Linked DNA regions of Homo sapiens: regions 2 and 3 are each linked to region 1. The links are contacts of gene promoters, found by promoter capture Hi-C in blood cells and fetal thymus (Javierre and others, 2016). All regions are on one chromosome and are shown on one strand. Each heading gives the region's core, a stretch centred on a gene start or on the middle of the fragment in contact. The rest is flanking DNA. Distances are from core to core; before and after follow the strand shown. Region 1 holds the start of FRY-AS1 (FRY antisense RNA 1). Region 2 overlaps PDS5B (PDS5 cohesin associated factor B). Region 3 has its middle 20 kb from the start of PDS5B-DT.

Region 1 (3,351 bases), core at 438-2,937:
TTTCAGTTATTGGAAAACTGCTCCATAAAGAACACTGTATGTCAAATTCTTTTCATTAATCAAAGAGCAGATAGACAAAGGAAGATTCATCCTTGAGTGTAAAGTATTATAAAAATAATGAGTCCAAGTTAAATGATTTATAGCTATGACAAGTAAAGAATGCTGTTTGGGCAACAGTATTACTCCCAAATGGCTTCCCACTTGTAGAAAAACAGCTTCAGACAAGCCCCATAGTGTATACAGTGGTGCAAAATGACCTGGAAAAAATGGTTTCTATGGATATCATTTAGAGATGCACATCCCTGAATACCTTAAGGCTGAAGGTACTTTAGCTCTTTTCCTCAAAGCAATTGCAGCACAGGTTCTCCTGCCCAGGTTTTGTTTATATAAGAACAATCTTGGCCACAGGTCATTTGTGTAGGAGACAATTAATCACTAGCTCTTTGAGCACAGGTAGGTTAATCAGTATGCACATAATACAATATTAAAATTTTCACGGGGAAAAAATTTTTTTATTTAAAACAATAAAGCATCAGTAATACCTGCTGATCTTTTATCCAAAGCAAGTACAAAGGCTGTTAGTGAAATAGAGAAGACTTTCTTTTTAAACAGTTCGGAAAATACAAGGCATCATTGATCACCTGAAGGCCTCATTTTAATTTGATTCCAGATCCACGGCAGCTTAGAGGTTGTCTTTTTGAAATAGCGTATTGCTAAAATCCTTATGTAGGTCAGAAATGGAACTTCAGGAGCCATCATATTCTGCTATCCTAATAAATAATTAGGGTCAGAACCTCACTTGTTTATGTTTCAAAAAAGCACAATATTTGGACTATAGCAAACATCAGGATTTTTAAAAATTCAAATATTAAATGGCATTCAGAACATCATCCACATGGAAGAGGGAGAGATGAAATAAATCTGCAGATGCCTCTATATACAAAAAGGATGTCCTAGGTTTTGGACTATTAAATACTTTTCTTTCTTCAGACAATACCCTAAAAAAACAATTACAAAGTACTCTGAAACCCTGCCACACCCCTTTGATTAAATCACACTTCACAAAATATTTAGAGAAAGCCTGAACAAATCAAATAAACATCAAGGCAGGAAATGCAGCCAGGAATGCCTGATCCTGAGCTCCCCCAGAGTCTGAAGGGCTGCCTCACTTGAAAATTTAATCAAACACAATCTACTGTAATTCCATTGCAGCCTTTGCACTTAAGGAAAGCTAGTTCAGTCTCTGACATTTTGATTTTCACAGCAGATGGGAGCAAAAAAAGAAAGAAAGAAAGAAAGAAAAAGAAAGAAAGAAAGAAAGAAAGAGAAAAGAAAAGAAAAGAAAAAAAGAAAAACTTCCGCGGCTCACAAACATATGTGTCCAGTTGAGATTTTCTGTCTCCAGCCTTATGCAACATCCAGCAAACAAACAAACAAAAAGGTTATTTTCTATTACTCACTATTACTCCAGGATTTCAGTAAATATTTGATACTGATCTCAAAGAAGCCCGAATCCTGCTGGCTGGCCATGTCTGCGGCATACAAAGAGGCTGGGAGGACGGGCAGCGGCCGGGAGCAGGTACCGGGCGTGATGCGCCTGTCACAGGTTGTGATGTCAGCGCGGGGTCAGGCGCCCAGAGGCAGCTCTGCGGATCCACCTCCGGCTCCGGCCGGGAGTGCTCATCTAAAGGACACGGCGGAGCAGAGAGAGATGCTCGGCCGCTCCTCCTCCTCCGGGTCCAGGACTTGCTTCTTATTTGCTGGACGCTGATCTCCCTGCAGCCCTCGGAGGCGGCGGCCGCGCTGCTTTCATTTCGGGGCTGTCATCACCAGAAACGCCGGCTGCCGGCCGCCCACCAGCTCGGCTCCAGCCAGGTACGCAACCGAGGAAGACCCCACCTGAACTGGGATCGGCTTTCTTCTGGGAGGGAGGGTTTCTAGGCCGGCCTCCCTGACGCGGTGCAGGCAGCCTCCGGCCCACACGGCCGCCGCGGGGCTAAGGGATGGGCCGGGAGCGCCGCCCCCTGCCCCTGCCCACTGTCTCAACCTGAGCCGCGGCTCAGTCTCCGCCTAGGCTGCGGGAGGAATTTCCCAGCTTCTGCGGATCCTCTCTCTTCAGCAAGGCTTCCCGTGAGCGGCCCGGGTGTGCTCTGGCTGCTGCTTCCCCTTGTGTCTGTCCCTGAAATAAACACAACTGCAGCACGCTGCGGTAAGCAAAGCTGCAGCCTTGCATCTGGTTGCAGCGACGTTTTGAAAAACCCCATCCGTCAGCCTCGTTGCAGTAAAGAGACTCAACAAGAGGACGCTTGTCTGGGCTTTTTCTTCCCTGCCTTCCACACGCATGGTGGTATCTGCATTTTTACTTTTCCCTCCCAGAAATGCAGTCTTTTCAAGGGGCATCGGAGCCCGAACGTGTGCACTCTAAGGGGACAGTACACACTGCTTAGTTGGCTTGTTTTTGTAATGTCACACACTCCACAATGGATCTTATTCTCAAACCTCTCATTTCTAAGACTCACTAAGCCCAGTGAAGCTTATTTTATTTGTATGAAAAGGATAAGAAGCAAAAGCATTAGATTCCTTGCTCTACAATGGCTCTTGATTTCATGAATTCTTGATATCAGGTGTCCTGATTTTGGTTAGCTTTGTTTCACATTATCATTTAGCTTGACCAGGGGATTAAATAAGAGTATTATATTTTAATAATGACAGGTTATGTTGGAAGAGGTGGGATTTGGCCAACTATCTCATAAACCACAGGATCCTTCCCAAGTCCCAGTACATTCATGATTAATGTTGTCTAAAAAACAGAAAAAAGTAATAAACCATGTTAATAAGTATTTAACATAGCAAATGTTGGGCTAACTCCCCAAATCAACACACAAACAGGACTTCCTAGATTAACAGTTCATTTTAAAAATGGAAGGGAAAGACTACAATGTACTTTTATTGTTAGGACAAAGAATTTTTAAAATTCAACACTAAATAAAACTTCTAGAACTATGTTCTGAAAGGCCCTAAGATACTTCATCAATACAATTAGTTTTTCAAACTCATTACACTTACCCAAATGGCAAGCACTCAATCACTCAGATTTCCAACTCCACTTATACACTTTATTCTGATGAAATCTCTCACCAGATTGACTTCTTTTTAATTCATGTGCATACTAGAGTTGCTGAACTGATTTTATCACTTGTACTTTGAATGTATGGATTCTAGGTAAAATAAGACCCAAAGGTTTTACCTTGAAACAATTATTATATCTGAAAATAAATTTCATACCTACGCCCATCTGATGCTTGCCAAGACTCAGATGGCAGTGAATGAACAGGTAGGCTGCACAGTGCC
Region 2 (3,351 bases), core at 273-2,772, 610 kb before region 1:
AAAAAGAAATAAAGGGTATAAGGATTTAAAATGAACCAGTCGTTATTCACAGATGATATGTTTACATACATAAAAACTTCAAAAGGATTTACAGATAAAACATGTGAATTATTAAGACTGAGTTTAGCAAGGATGAAAAGTAAAAAACATCAATATAGAGATGTTCCTCAACTTACAATAAGGTTACGTCCCAATAAACCCATTGTAAATTTAAAATATAGTTAAGCCAAAAGTGCATTTCTATCATATGTCAAGAAACATACCAAATGTGTATTGCCTTCACACCATCATAAAGTCAAAAAATTGTCCTAAGTTGAACCACCATAAGTCAGGGACATCCATAACAAGCATAAGTCACCAACAGGTAACAACAGGTAACACAAATACTTAATGGTAAAAGACTAAATGCTTCCCCTTTAAGATCAGAAACAAAGAAATGATGTCTACTCCCAGCACTTTTATTCAATATAATGCTAGAAGCCCTAGGCAGCACACAAAGAAACAGAAAATAAAAAGCATACATATTGGAAAAGAAACTGTCCCTACATCCAGACAACATGATTATCTACACAGAAGATGCCAAAGGAATCTACAAAAAATAAACTACTAGTTCATCGACGTTCCAGGATACAAGATTAACATCCAAAAATCTGTGTTCCTCCTGTGCATAGTCATACATCACTTAATGATGGGATACATTCTAATAAATACGTTGTTGGGGAATTTTATTGTTGTGCAAACATCATACAGTGTACTTACACAAACCTAAATGGAACAGACTACTACATACCTAGGCTATATGGTATAGCCTATTGCTTCTAGGCTACAAACCTGTACAGTATGTTACTGTACTGAATACTGTACACAACCGTAACACAATGGTAAGTATCTGTGTATCTAAATGTATCTAAACATAGAAAAGATACAGTACAAATACAGTATTATAAGCTTATGGAACCACCATCATATATGCAGTCCATCACTGACAGAAAAGTTGTGTGGTACGCAACTGTATATGAAAAAAAGTGGTAGCGATAACAGGAAAGAGCAGAGAGAATACAATAAAAAGTTCTGAAGACACTTTCATATCTAAGTTTTTTAAAAAGGACACTGTACCTATATTTCACACCATATACAAAATGAATTCGAGGTACAGTAACAACTTAAATATAAAGGCAAAGTGTTAAAAGCTTTTAGAATATGATAAAAGAGAATAGCTGCATGACTTCAGGTTAGGAAAAACACTAGCAAGAACCAAGTTCATAGTTACATTCCTTCAACCAAAGAAGATACTCAGCCAATGCCTAGGACAAAGCACTCCAGGGAAAGATTGATAAATGGATTGATAAATGTGATAAGCTTCTCTTCCACTGAGTCTGGAGTGGAAGAAAGTCTCTCTGCCTTATTTCAGAGACAAAAGCTGTTCATGATTCATAAAAACAAATACATGAATATGGCCACAGACCACAGCTATACAATGTAGACAGAGTGACCTTGTAAAATATACTCATCCATGTAACCAAAAATTTATCAAGCACCTCATATGCAGAACACAACAGCAGAAACTACAGAGCAAAACACGTAAAATGGGTCTCAAAATCCATGAAGAGAAACAGACATTCCCCTAAATAAGTGAATCACAGTTGATTCTGAAATTATCCTAACAGAAATAAACAACAAGCTTGGAAAAAATAAGACTGAAAGAAAAACCACTTTTGTAAGTGGACAGGGGTAAAGTGGTAATAATACACAGAATAAAAAGACAGAAAAAAACATTCTGAATAAATCTCAGAGAGCAAATTTCAGTTACTGGACCAGAAGTATGACTGAAGGAAAAGGTGGAAGGAAGTAAAGGGAGCTAAGACGGAAAAAATAAAGAGACAACAAAGAGGGAGGTTACTCAATTTGCACTTCAGTCTTATGAACAGCATTGTAAGGAGAGGTTTGAAACACCTCTGTGAATATACACAGGTTGTTTTTCCTATGAGTAAAACATACTGGCCCTTGTCTACTAAGCAAACTCTATAGACCTTAAAGTCTCATTTTAACTTTTTCTGACCTCAACCAGGCAGAGCTAGGCTCCTCCCCTACAGCTAGTCACACTTTGAACCTACTACAATTAGCAATTATCACATTGTATCTATTGTACTTATTTCTATCTTTGTCTCTCCCACTAGACTGTAAGCTCCTTAAGAAAAGTAGCATATAACATTTATGCTAGCATCTATCTGCTAGCATCTATCGCAAATAGCTACTATCAGTAGTAGGCACTCAGGAAATAATGAATGAATGAACGACCAGAACTATTCGAAGAAATTATGGTTACAGCAAAAAGTAGAGCTAGACACAGGAGAAATTAAAACAAGTTAGAAAACTACTGCAAAATTCCAAGAAAGAAGTAATGAGGAACTGACTGTAGGCAATGACTACAAAACAAGAAAACTGATTCAACGACTTACGAATGATTATACCAGAGAAGCAGAACATGATTATAAGATTCGAAACCTTTGTTCCTAGAAGGCCATTTATTTAAATATTTATTGAGAATTTGCTTGGTGCAATACACTAAGTACTAGGAATACAATGATGAGCAAATGTACAAGAAAGAGCTCTGCCCTCGTTGTAATGGAGATGGGGGAAAACCCAGAGAGAGAGATTAAGTCTTGGGAAAAATAAAGTTTGCTCTAGAAGGCAACTGTAGATTATACATCTAAAGTTCTAGAAAAAAAGTGTAAAATGAGAAAATATTTTTAGAACAATTTATTGTTCATGCTTTATGGGTTTACAAGATGAGTAAAGAAAATGAGTAGGGTGAGCTGAGATACCAACACTAAACCTTAATGAAATACCTATAGTGATTGGGGTGGTGGGAGCCCACAGGGGAGATAAAGAAGGAAAACAGAAGAAAGTCAAGAAAATGGCTTTAGAAAAATGAGAGTAATTGTTACAAAAATCTACGGAAAAAATGTTTGAAGATGAAGGGACGATATATAGTGATATTACAAAAACCTAGGCAAAAATGTTTGAAAATGGAGGGGTGACATATAGTGATGATCACCCTCAGTGAAAACATACAAAATGACTTCAGCAAATACTCCCTTGAACTTGACAGGATATTTGAGAAAAAAGTGTCCAGAAAATGATGGGAATGAATACCAAATTACGAGATAAGAAAAAGGTGAAAAGAAAAAAGAGGAAGCAGAAAAGGAGCAACACAGAAGAAGAGGGTATCATTAAGTCAATGAAAAACAGGTATTGATACAGAGCTGCTCCTTAAACAGAATGTCAAATAAATGATTTGACATATAATAGTTCCTTTCATCTTTGGGGAATCTCAACCATTCACTATTA
Region 3 (3,351 bases), core at 601-3,100, 530 kb before region 1:
CGCCAGGTTGGAGTGCAGTGGCACAGTCTCGACTTGCTGCAACCTCCGCCTCCTGGGTTCAAGCGATTCTCCTGCCTCAGCCTCCTGAGTAGCTGGGATTGCCGGTGAGCGCCACCACACCCAGCTAATTTTTGTATTTTTAGTAGAGATGGGGTTTCAGTATGTTGGCCAGGATGGTCTGGATCTCCTGACCTTGTGATCCGCCCACCTCAGCCTCCCAAAGTGCTGAGATTACAGGAGTGAGCCACCGCACCTGAACTACATATGGCTTCTTTAGGGACCTCCTGCTTTCTTCCTCCTTGGAATGATTTATGTTTGCAAAATTAAAATTACACTTTTTAAAGTTTCCCAATACTGGGCCAGGTGTCGTGGCTCACTCCTGTAATCCCAGCACGTTGGGAGGCTGAGGCGGATGGATCACCTGAGGTCAGGAGTTCGAGACCAGCTAGACCAACATGGAGAAACCCCATCTCTACTAAACATACAAAGTTAGCCAGGCGTGGTGGCGCATGCCTGTAATTCCAGCTACACAGGAGGCGGAGGCAAGGGAATCTCTTGAACACGAGAGGTGGAGGTTGCAGTGAGCTGAGATTGAGCCATTATACTCCAGCCTGGGCAACAAGAGAGAAACTCCACCTCAAAATAAATAAATAAATAAAAGTTTACCAATACTTTGAAACCATCTTTTCTTTATATCATATATATAGTTCTTATCTTTAGCCATTGTACCCCTAGTGGTTACACACTCAAAATTGATAAGATCGTTTTCTCCTGGGTTGTCATCACTTTCTGGTAATCATTTGCTCTTATTGATGACTTGGTTGTACCTTTGAAGCAAGGCCCATGGTTAAAGTTCATGTCGTTTCTTCTAGCCCTTGTTCCATTCTGATAGATAGGTGTTAAGAATGGACCCAAGCAAGTCTGGGTACGGTGGCTCACGCCTGTAATCCCAGCACTTTCAGAGGCCGAGACAGGTGGATCATGAGGTCAGGAGTTCAAGACCAGCCTGACCAACATAGTGAAACCCCATCTCTACCGAAAATATAAAAATTAGCTGGGTGCGGTGGTGGGCGCCTGTAATCCCAGCTACTCAGGAGGCTGAGGCAGGAGAATTGCTTGAACCCAGGAGGCAGAGGTTGCAGTCAGTTGCGCCACTGCACCCCGGCCTGGGCGACAGAGCAAGACTCTGTTTAAAAAAATAAAATAAAATAATGAACTCAACTCAATTTGGCCATTTGCAATTACTGAGTTCTTTTTTGCCATAAGTAGCCATATATATTTAGGGGTATAGGAGGGATGTAAGGATCTTAGCCACAACTTTGCTAACGGATTTATAAAGAGAGCAAATCTCAGACTAAATTCTGCTACATATGCAGACATTTGTTAGCAAACTGGCATGAAACAGAGAAACAAAAATTACAAACTTGTTTTGTAAGCTCAATGAAGGCCCAACTTTGTCCTTCAAATGTGCTCATCACGACTTGCACGAAAAGTTCATTGTAACCAACACAACAGAGATGAATTCAGTTACTTTATAGATGACAGGCAATAGGAATTCTCCAAATTAGTGGCTGATATGGTTTGGGTTTGTGTCCCTGCCCAAATCTCATGTTGAGTTGTCATCCCCAATGTTGAAGGAGAAGCTTAGTGGGAGGTGACTGGATCATGGGGTTGGATTTCCCCTTATTTTCTTCTGATAGTGAGTGAGTTCTCATGAGATCTGGTTGTTTAAACGTGTGTAGCACCTCCCCCTTCGCCCTTTTCCTCCTTCTTCAGCCATGTAAGACATGCCTGCTTCCCCTTCTCCTTCTGCCAGGATTGTAAATTTCCTGAGGCCTCCCAGCCATGCTTCCTATACAGTCTGCAGAACTGTGAGTCAGTTAAACCTTTTTTCTTTATGGGGGGTTGAGTGAGAAAATTAACTTATGCCTTAAAACTTTTTATAATTTTATTTCATGGAATGGAATTAAATTACCCAGTCTAAGGTAGTTCTGTATAGCAATGTGAGAATGGACTAATATAGGGGTGGAATACAAACTTTATCAGAATAAAGCTTCATACCACTCCAAAGATGACCCTTTTAATGCAAAGGTGAGGATTGTTTCTGTATTTCTGCTTATTGACACAACTTTCTATATATATCTACACTTACATCTTGAACACCACTAATTTCATCAACAAAACCTATTTCTAGCATCCCAAATGCTAATTACAAAACTCTGTGTTGATCAGAGCTAAAGTGGATGTTGTAGTCACCTTTGGAATTTGGCCTTTTTTTGTTTTTTTGTTTTTTTGTTTTTTGAGACAGGAATGTGGCCTTTCATTAAATGTTAGCTAACTATTGCTGAAACACATATTCCTAATTAGGACACAAACCAGTCTTAGAGTGTAGATTTAAACAAACACACACACTGATATCACATTGTTTATGCTAGAAACTGGCATTTGGGAAAAAAAAAAAACTACAGTCAACTTAGAATGGGTCATAAGCAAAGCCCCAGTTCATTTGTCTGCCTGCATGACTTGCATTGCATTGTTCCCAAGATGACACCAGGAGGAATTTTGTAAATAATAAAATGATACTTTTATTTCCTTATTGTGCTTAGTGTACTTGTTTCTGAAAGTGACAGTGTGAGAAAATCCTAAGCAGAGAAGTAAGACAGAAGTGAGGGGGAATCCTAACCAGTGGTGACAGCAAAAAAGGTGACAACGTCAGAGATGGATTGGGGCCCCTAAGGCAGAAGTCGGTTTCTCAACTTAGTCCAGGCATTGGTCAGTCCAGGATTAGATGTCCTCACAAGTACGCTTTCTGGTAATAGGCATCATTTCCCCCACTCATCTTTCAGTCCCTCTTCACAGGAAAATCAAGACTTTACAATGGACATGGAGTACCATAGTTCACACAAATAAAACTATGCTAAAAATACGTGGAAGAAGAAGGCTGGGCACAGTGGCTCATGCCTGTAATCCTAGCACTTTGGGAGGCCAAGGTGGGCAGATCACCTGAGGTTAGGAGTTTGAGACCAGCCTGGCCAAACCCCATCTCTACTAAAAATACAAAAATTAGCTGAGTCAGGTGGCATGTGCCTATGATCCCAGCTACTCCAGAGGCTGAGGCAGGAGAATTGCTTGAACCTGGGAGGCGGAGGTTGCAGTGAGCCAAGATCACGCCACTGCACTCCAGCCTGGGCAACAGAATGAGACTCCATCTCAAAAAAATATATATATGTATAATATATATATATTTATATATAAATATTTTATATATATTATATATAATATATACTATATATTATATATAATATATAGTATATAATATATAGTATATAATATATATTTATATAATATATA

What was found. The method cuts DNA at HindIII sites, captures the fragments that hold promoters and counts their contacts. A CHiCAGO score of 5 or more calls a contact.
Region 2: a contact is called between a fragment that was not itself captured here and the fragment with the promoter of FRY-AS1 in region 1, in 1 of 17 cell types (fetal thymus). The highest score is 5.1, in fetal thymus.
Region 3: a fragment that was not itself captured here is called in contact with the fragment with the promoter of FRY-AS1 in region 1 in 1 of 17 cell types (endothelial precursors); the score reaches 5.7 in endothelial precursors.

Annotation. Positions count from the first base shown.
Region 1 is chr13:32,029,975-32,033,325 of GRCh38, reverse strand. It overlaps FRY-AS1 (FRY antisense RNA 1), which reads left to right and starts at 1,687. Exons shown (of 4, transcript NR_103839.1): 1 at 1,687-1,875. FRY (FRY microtubule binding protein) reads right to left here and starts at 1,552. Exons shown (of 61, transcript NM_023037.3): 1 at 1,461-1,552. The coding sequence starts at 1,530. The HindIII fragment of the contact is 3,062 bases long and covers 1-2,535 here.
Region 2 is chr13:32,641,187-32,644,537 of GRCh38, reverse strand. All of the region lies in intron 1 of PDS5B (PDS5 cohesin associated factor B), which reads right to left. Among named protein-coding and RNA genes, the nearest start is that of PDS5B, 56 kb to the right of the region's middle. The HindIII fragment of the contact is 322 bases long and covers 1,362-1,683 here.
Region 3 is chr13:32,564,847-32,568,197 of GRCh38, reverse strand. No RefSeq gene overlaps it. Among named protein-coding and RNA genes, the nearest start is that of PDS5B-DT, 20 kb to the left of the region's middle. The HindIII fragment of the contact is 410 bases long and covers 1,646-2,055 here.